3 separate regions of the Homo sapiens genome follow, and all the other regions are linked to region 2. Evidence: promoter capture Hi-C in 16 types of primary human blood cells and fetal thymus (Javierre and others, 2016). All regions are on one chromosome and are shown on one strand. Each heading gives the region's core, a stretch centred on a gene start or on the middle of the fragment in contact. The rest is flanking DNA. Distances are from core to core; before and after follow the strand shown. Region 1 holds the start of NXT1 (nuclear transport factor 2 like export factor 1). Region 2 holds the start of CRNKL1 (crooked neck pre-mRNA splicing factor 1). Region 3 overlaps GZF1 (GDNF inducible zinc finger protein 1).

Region 1 (2,700 bases), core at 169-2,668, 3.3 Mb after region 2:
GTTATGTGAAACAAATTAAAGGGGCTTATTATACAGGAAACAAAAGCAGCACAGCATCCAAACTACTGAGCGTGCAGTAAATCAACGCATTCCCACTTCCATTCCATCCACGCTGATTTAGATCAATCCAAGTATCACTGCCTTGGGGTTCAAAAGGCCATGTTAGTTCACAAAGCCCCGAAAATGCTCTTTCACACTCTCTGCTCAGCCTCCAACGTGTCTTTTTAATAATCCAAACTTTCCACCTACTTAACTGAAGTGTGTGGGGGGAGAGGGTGCGGGGGGGAAGGGGTGGCCTATACTAAATAGCCCAACTGTTTTCCACTTGTCCTGAAATCTGAGACCAAGATTCTCTTAGGAATGCAAGCAAAGGGAGCCGACGGGACGCCAAGAAAGCACAGGTTAAACTACCTCACTTCATCTAGCCCCATTTCTCTCCTGGCTTTTCAATTAATTATTCAGCCTCAGACCAGCAGATGGAGCTGAAAATGTTGTCTAAAGAAATGAGGTTTTTCTTTTAATTTACAAGCTATAGTTTCTCATGCCTCCACACTGAATGGTTACATCCTGTTGAGCCTGTTCGTAAAGTTCAGTAAAAATCCAGTTCTCATTCCAGAACAGCTGAATCGTAGCTATGAACGCGGAAGAACAGAGTCCCAACCCCAGCCGGGCCCGGGTTTCCCGGGGCCCCTCAAGCCTCAGGGCAGTGGAGAGCCGCCGTCACGCCCCCGCCTCCCCCACGTCCCACCCTCGCCCCAGTCTCCTCCCACTTTTAGCTACTTTTCCCATCTGACTAAAACTGGCTTCCTCCGTGTCCACCAAGATGTCGCCTCTAAGTGGCCTAACTCCTAAAGAGCGCGATCGGCTCAAGCACTCCGCCACGCGGTTTCCACGGGGCGCGGCCGGCGTTGCCCTCGCCGTGGCCTCAAGCATTGCGGCGCCCCACATGTTGCCAGACGGAAGGCCTCGGCGGGGTCAGGCAGCTGCTGCTGGCCGTGACTACATCACTGGTGACGTTTCACGAGACTTTTAACTGAAATCACTCCAATACAGGCGCATGCGGGACGAGGGGAAAGCATCTCACCCGACCCCACACACCTTCCCCTCCCTCTCCAGCCTAGCGGCCTCCGCTCAGCGGAAAAAAAAGCAGACGCTACTCCCCGCTCTAGGTGCGGGACCTAAGAGGTTTGGCCCAATCAGGCATCCCACCTAACCAGACGGGCCGGAGTCTGTGGCCCGGTTGGACCAACGAAAACTCTAGGGCGGATTTGCCGGGATTTCTGGGAAAGTGACACTCCCGGAAGCTACCGCCTCTTATAAGCCACACATGGGCGGAGTTAGCCTTCCGGCCCGCAGTCCCACTGGCTGACTTCGCTGCCCGTCACGGGAATGCGGGAGAGGGCGGCGCCGGGGCGCTCGCGTCTGCGTGGAGACCGGCTGGCCGCGCGCGGGAAGCCGCGGAACTGCGCCGGAAAGTCCCCCGGCTCTGGGGCCCCGGTGACCCAGAGTAAGCCTCCAAGAAGGAGGAGGAGGAGAGAAAGGCGGCTCTTCCCGTGCCCCTACCAGAGGCTTCGGTGGGCCCACCTTGTGACCTCCGCGGCCGGCCCCTCAGTGGAACTGCGTCCCACGCGGGGGGCGTCCCGACCGTGGGGGCCGCGGCCCGCGCTGACCCTGGACGTCGCCGCGCAGGTACGTTGCCGTCCCCCGGCGGTCTGACCCCCGAGACAGCCCCTAGTGCATACCCCACGCCCTCCTCCATTGTCGAGAATGAGACACGGCTGTGCCTTTGTCCACGTGGTAGAGTTGCCGCCGCGGTGAGGCTCTCGCCTGTGCAAAAAGCGTGGCAGCGAATTCTCATCAACGAGGGGAGGCGCGTCCCCTCACAGCGCAGCTCTCGGGTCTGAGGAGGGCCGGGCAGGGCGTGCGTCTGTCTAGGTTTGAATTAAAGGCGACTCACAGGAAATAAGGCCATGCCACTGTGGTAGCTTTTCCCGTCCATCTCCGGACACTCGACGGTGTGGGTCGTGCGAGGAGGCGGCAGTCTTCACAGCCTCTTACTCTAGTCCTCACGGTCAGGTTCTTTTTCTGATTTGACACAGACAGCGGGACTGACGACCTCATAGGTAGCTGAAAACCGTAAGTGGAGATGGTCCTTCTATGGTGTGTGGGGGCGTGGCCAGTTGTTAGATTGTGTTTGGAAAGACAGCCAGGGGCGGAGAAGAGGGGCATTTCTGAGATGATGGGGGGACTGGTGCCATGGAGGGAGGAGGAGTGAGGTGGAGATCGGGAATTCCAGCCAAAGAGAAATGGGGTCCCTGGGAGAAAATTCCCACTCTAGCAGTCCTGGAGTTGTGCTCATGGAGACTTGCTTACGCGAGTACAAGGACAGCGTTGTATTGACAAAATTTCAGCCCTCAGTCTAGTCTTGTAAACGATAGATCAGGAGTGTACTTAACCGTCGTTACTTTGATCCAGCCCTAGGTTTCCCTTTTCTCATTTGTAAAATTGTTATAGTAATACCTTTTTCATCCATTTGTGGTAACATTTAAATGAGGTAATTTGTGTGAAGCCCTTAGCAAACACAGCGCTTCTTAGTCGTGGGTTCCGCGTGGGGTGGATTCAACCAACCTCAAATCAAAAATATTCTTCAGAAAAAGAAAAATGCGTTTGTACTGAACATGTAGAGGCTTTTTTTTTCTT
Region 2 (2,700 bases), core at 39-2,538:
ATGTGGTGAGTACAAATTGAGGTGGACTGTAAGTGTAAAATACACATTGGTTTTGAAGATGAAGTATAAAAAAGAATAAACTACCTCATTACATTTTTTATACCGATTACATGTTGAAATGATAATATTTTGGATACATTAGCTCAAATAAAATATATATTATCAAAATTAATTTCACTTTTTTGCTTTGTTTTTACTTTTTAATGTAGATATGAGAAAATTTAAAATTTCATATGTGGTGTGCATTATATTTCCATTGGACCAGTGATGCCCAATAAAAGTTTATGTAGCTGAATTATAAAAAATGTTACTTAATGCCACATGTGGAGTAATGATGATAATGGTGATAGCTCATATTTAATAAGCACTAAGTGCCAGACACAGTGTTACTTGCTCTATATGCATTACTCCTGCGAGTCAGACAAATAGTTATGTAAAGGTCCAGTTCAAGAGAGTCATCCGGGCTCAAGAAAGACTGGAGGGAGGGTATCTGTAAAGGCTTCAAAGTCTGCCACATATTAAGCACTTGGTAAGTATTAGCTATCAAAGGAAATACCAGATAGTAAGTCTACTGTTTAATTAACTTATGATACTATACTACTCCTACCGTCTACTCTCGCCCTCCGCTGTCAGCTGGGCTAACTCCTATTCAGCCTTCAAGTCTCAGCTTAAAGGTCATTTCCTCAGCAAAATTTACTTTCAGGACCCCTTCATACGACCCCCTTATTCACGCCCATGGCATATTCTACTTTGCCTCTCGGTAACATCTAGCAAGGTCGTCTTTATACAGAAACTCGTGTTTTGAGTACTGCTTGTGGCCAGCGTACGAGCGTAGCTTCCCAGCGCCCAGTGCAGTGCCTGGCTCAGTAAATCTTCACCGAACCACCCCACTCCACTCCCCAGCAAAACCACCCCAGAACGAAGGCCACGCCAACGCGGGTCGTGCTCCGCGATGACAAGAGCCCGCGCCCCACCACCAGCTGCCCTTCCTCTCCATCTCTCAGGGTGAGCCTTCTCCCCGGCGGGAACACTCTCTCCCAACCCGGGCACCCTCAGGGCTGAGGGATGCCCCTTTCCTAGGCCACCTCCTACAAGGCCCCTCGCGATCGCCTACCTTGGCCACTTTGGGAATCCGCTGCTTCCCGGCCGCGGTGGAGGCCGCCATGTCTGCAGCAGTCGACCTCTGGACACCTGTCCCCGGCACGGACGCTAGAAATCGGCTCTGAGAGCTCACCGAAACCACAAAGCTTTCAGAAAACAAACAGGATCTCGGAACCGGAAGCGGAACTTGCAGGACTGACCTTTGACCTCTCGCTTGAGCCGTGACGGAGGCGGCACCGTTTCCATGGTGACCAGGCTGCGCGTCCTCCTTGCGGCAGCGCGTGGAGTGCGGCGTCCTGGAGCTGCGGATGAGGTGGGTAACGCCGTGCTGACTAGCAGCGACGCAAGGACTGCGGTGCAGGGCGTCCAGGGCGCATCCCCAGGTCAGCCTCCGGAACTGGGATGACCAGGCGAGGACGAGTGGCTCTGTCGAGCCGTGGCGCCCTGCAAGGGAGTAAGAACGGAGCTCCAATCTGGATGCTCGAGGGCGGGGGAAGAAGGGAGAGCGAGGAAACTACCATTCCCAGCATGCGACGGGGCGAGCTGCCGCCCTTTTAGGCTGCAATGCCTCGAGCATTGCATTCTAGTAGTCTCTGGGTCCACGCCCCCTCGTTTCTGGTTTCGGGACAGTTGTGCCCAAATAATTCTAAGGTGCCCAAATAATTAACTCTAAGGCTTGGAATTAAAAATAACAGAAGGTACTTTGAAGCCAGATATTAGGAAAAAATATAAATAGAGTAACTGGAAAACAACTCAGTCTTGTGATAAGAAACATGTTTAAATTCTGTGTGTGCCTTAATTACTCTAGTTAAATTTTCTTAGCCTCAATGTCCTCAACTATAAAACAAGGCTAATAACATCTGTTTCACTAGGATTAAAGACAAATGCTCAGTAGATGTTAGCTGTTATAATACTTAACCTGCCCTCAAAAACTGAAAAGCAAAGGTTAAGAGAATTTTTTTTAATAGACATTTTTAGAGAAGTTTTAGGTTCACAACAAAATTAAGTGGAAGACACAGAGATTTCCTCCCTCCACAGCTTCCTGCTATCAATTATTGTACCTCTTCCCTCCTCTAACAGCCTCCAACTCTTAAAAATATCCTCCACCAGAGCAGTACATTTGTTACAATCTTGAACCTACATTGACACATCATTATCACCCAAAGTTCATAGTTTATATTAGGGTTCACTCTTGGTGTACATTCTATGAGGTTGGACAAATGTATAATGACATGACTTGGCAGCTCATTTGTTAGGATAATTTCCACAGTTGCAAAGCTCTTTTGGTGTTTGGGGAAAATATATATTTATGTATGTAGTAATATCACGTCTACCAATGCAGATATTACTTTCAACAAAAGATTTATGCAGATTTCTAGAACTGCAGTCAGTTATAACCAACATCAATGTATTTGCCATAACTCTTTATTAACCATATTATTTAGATATTTTATCTCACTTTTCAAAATTTAAATAGAGAAGATTTTATATCACTTTCATAAAGCCACCTAACAAAATAAATAAATATTAAAAAGATGTTTCTTTGAAGTGATTTTCCTTAAATGTGTTACTGTAAACAATTGATTTACCAAATGAATC
Region 3 (2,881 bases), core at 13-2,512, 3.3 Mb after region 2:
ATTTCCATGTGGGTTTACTTCTCTCATAACTACTTTCAAGGTATTTTTCTTCCAAGCTGAAATAAAACTGGGGCCACATATTTTCAGTCATTTCTTCCCTGTTGAATTGAAGCAAATCAGATTTTCTGTGGGGACCCTCAAATGCAACTGAAGAAATAGATTGTTGCATTCATTCCTCCCCACCCCCCATTTGTAGGCAGTAAACAAAGTATGACTGACAGATTGAACACCTGCAAAACTGCTAGCGTAATCTCAGCACATACGCAGCTAGGAAGTTTGTCATAAAATCAACTTAGAAATGAGATGAGGCTGTTCAGTTTGTCTTAAAAAAATCAGATTAGGTAAAAGCTGTCCTACCAAAGAGTCTAGCAAAACAATATAGTATTTTTTTGCAGAGGCATGAAAAATTAAGACGCTTTAGAGTACTTGAAAGTTGTGTAGTCATTTTATTTGCAAAATGAGGTGACTGTGGCAAATTATAGAACACAGAGTATTATTACTTTTGCCAGGTTTTTCTGACTTGATTTCTGTAATTTCCAGAAACCCAGACTTCTCATTTCCACACCTAGAGATGGAAACAGGCAAGTAACTGACATGTCTATTTCCTTGGGAGCATGTGAGAACATAGCAGTAGGGACCAAAAGTCTCAGCACACTTACCTCCGATTATGCCTTAAAGAGTTGATTGTGAAGAACCAGTAACTTTGTCCCAAATGCTTCTTTGGCTGTTTCATGCAGGACTTAATTATTGCTTTTAAAAATTCACAATGAAAAGACGATTCTGCTGTATTTGTTAAACGTTGACATTTGGTTCTAGGGCCTTGAGTATGTGCCACGTGCTTGTGAAATGCTATGATTCACATGTAACATTTAAACATTAATTTAAAAAGGGAACCTTGGAGAATTCTTTTGTTCACTAGTTCCTTTTTTCTCTACATTTTTAATTTATTAAACTTGCTGTGAAAACACTTTGATTTTCTAAGAGGAAGGTACTTTAAGTTCCAGAATGAACATGTAGCTGCACTATGCCAGAAATTAATGAGGGAAGACTTTCTTCCTAAGTGCTTATGTTTTAACTTATGTTAGTGAAACCACTACAAGGTGTTTCAGGCGCTGATAACATGCTTCACACCTGCCCTTGGAGGTCACAGTACTAATTTACTTCAAATTTAGTTATGACAGTGTCACTGTATCCTAGTTATGTTTACAGCACAAATAAATAATGACTGTCATACATCCAGAGGAGACCGAACCTGCCCAGCTGATGTACTGTTTTATGGAATAAAGTCACTTGATCAGAAGGAATTGAAACAATAGATCATTTTGTTACCTACTGGAGGGATTTTTGTCTTGAATTTGTTTCCTTAGAAATTCTACAAAAAAATGTTGTTAATAAATGTCTGCTTTGTAAAAGCAGTTTTGCAATTTTTTAAAGATCTATTTCTGTTATAATTTAGGTTCTGCAGAAATATGATTCTTAATTGAAACATATAATTTGCTTAATTACGTGAATAATGAAATGTAAAATCCGGGTCCATAAGCCTTTATTTCATACAGTCCTAGGATTAAGCTGTTTAACTGCTTGGATCCCAGTTGGTCTCTGGCAGTGGGATCCTGGAGAGGAGAAATCCTGGCCTCTGCTCATGCGCAGGCCACAACCGGGCTGGAAGTGCGGTTGAGCTCTCTGCCACTTTCTTCAATGTAAAAAGTAGGCATCAAAGATACGACTTCTACTATATACATTTCTCTGTCCCTGAGAACAGAGAAACGTAACCCTGTAGGGGACTGGTTACAGAGGACCTCCTGGAGCATCTGCCCCATTCCTCCAAGTCCAAGCACAGCCATGCTGAGTGGAAGCGAGGCCACCATCTGAGTGGATTGGTCCCAAGTGTGTAATGAGGAAAGTGGCCAGGTGCCGGCACAGTGCCTCTCCCAGAGCCTCAAGAAGGGCCATTTAGGAGCTTGCTTCAACCATTTTCCAACCATTTTCTGTGAAATGCTGTCAGCCCAAACTCCAAAGGGATGTGCAGCCTTTCGTTTTACCAAATTCTTTGCTGTCGTTTGGAAAAAATGGGCCATGTGGTGGAGACCTTTATTTAAGGTGATTTTTACAGAAATGTGATTTTGCTGTAGGTGATTATCCAAACAAGTAAATTTGAGTGTATAATTTAATTTTTAACCTGTTAAATAAACCTTGTCCCTCCAAGGAGTTCATTTTTGGGAAACAAGATGGGTACTTGTCAATTTAACCAAATGTCATGATATTCATGTACTCAGGAGTAACAATATTTCATTTGATGTGACTGAGAAAGGCACACAGGTCAGAGGATCATCTAGCACAGCAGTCCCCAACCTTTTTGGCACCAGGGACCACTTTTGTGGAAGACAATTTTCCCACAGGTGGGGGGACAGAATGGTTTCAGGATGATTCAAGCGCATTGCATTTATTGTGCACTTTCTATTATTATTGCATTGTAATATACAATGAAGTAATTATACAATGCACCATAATGTATAGTGGGAGCCCTGAGCTTGTTTTCCTGCAACTTGACAGTCCCATCTGGGGGTGATGGAAGACAGCAACAGATCATTAGGCATTAGATTCTCATAAAAAGCGTACAACCTAGATCCCGTGCACGCGCAGTTCAATAGGGTTTGCACTCCTATGAGACTCTAATGACACTGCTGATCTGACAGGGTGCACAGCTCAGGTGGTAATGTGAGCCACGGGGAGTGACTGCAAATACAGATGAAGCTTCACTGCCTGCAGCTCACCTCCTGCCGTAAGGCCCAGTTTCTAACGGGTTGGGGACCCCTGATCTATCACATCATGCTAAATGAGACTCAGAAAATCATCTGCATACCTTTGGCAATCCGTACGT

What was found. The method cuts DNA at HindIII sites, captures the fragments that hold promoters and counts their contacts. A CHiCAGO score of 5 or more calls a contact.
Region 1: the fragment with the promoter of NXT1 here is called in contact with the fragment with the promoter of CRNKL1 in region 2 in 6 of 17 cell types (naive CD4 T cells, total CD4 T cells, activated CD4 T cells and 3 more); the score reaches 13.2 in naive CD4 T cells.
Region 3: a fragment that was not itself captured here is called in contact with the fragment with the promoter of CRNKL1 in region 2 in 1 of 17 cell types (total CD4 T cells); the score reaches 6.1 in total CD4 T cells.

The regions. Positions count from the first base shown.
Region 1 is chr20:23,349,373-23,352,072 of GRCh38, forward strand. NXT1 (nuclear transport factor 2 like export factor 1) reads left to right here and starts at 1,419. Exons shown (of 2, transcript NM_013248.3): 1 at 1,419-1,689. It overlaps NXT1-AS1 (NXT1 antisense RNA 1), which reads right to left and starts at 2,095. Exons shown (of 3, transcript XR_937384.2): 1 at 1,958-2,095. RefSeq lists enhancers at 420-1,292, 1,001-1,140, 1,060-1,354, 1,293-2,164, 2,221-2,270 and silencers at 711-840, 1,461-1,730. The HindIII fragment of the contact is 12,471 bases long and covers 1-2,700 here.
Region 2 is chr20:20,051,178-20,053,877 of GRCh38, forward strand. CRNKL1 (crooked neck pre-mRNA splicing factor 1) reads right to left here and starts at 1,289. Exons shown (of 14, transcript NM_001278628.2): 1 at 1,115-1,289. The coding sequence starts at 1,165. It overlaps CFAP61 (cilia and flagella associated protein 61), which reads left to right and starts at 1,355. Exons shown (of 27, transcript NM_015585.4): 1 at 1,355-1,414. RefSeq lists enhancers at 1,144-1,313, 1,324-1,623 and a silencer at 1,714-1,763. The HindIII fragment of the contact is 2,238 bases long and covers 1,246-2,700 here.
Region 3 is chr20:23,370,839-23,373,719 of GRCh38, forward strand. It overlaps GZF1 (GDNF inducible zinc finger protein 1), which reads left to right. Exons shown (of 6, transcript NM_022482.5): 6 at 1-2,224. Among named protein-coding and RNA genes, the nearest start is that of GZF1, 10 kb to the left of the region's middle. The HindIII fragment of the contact is 2,979 bases long and covers 1-2,752 here.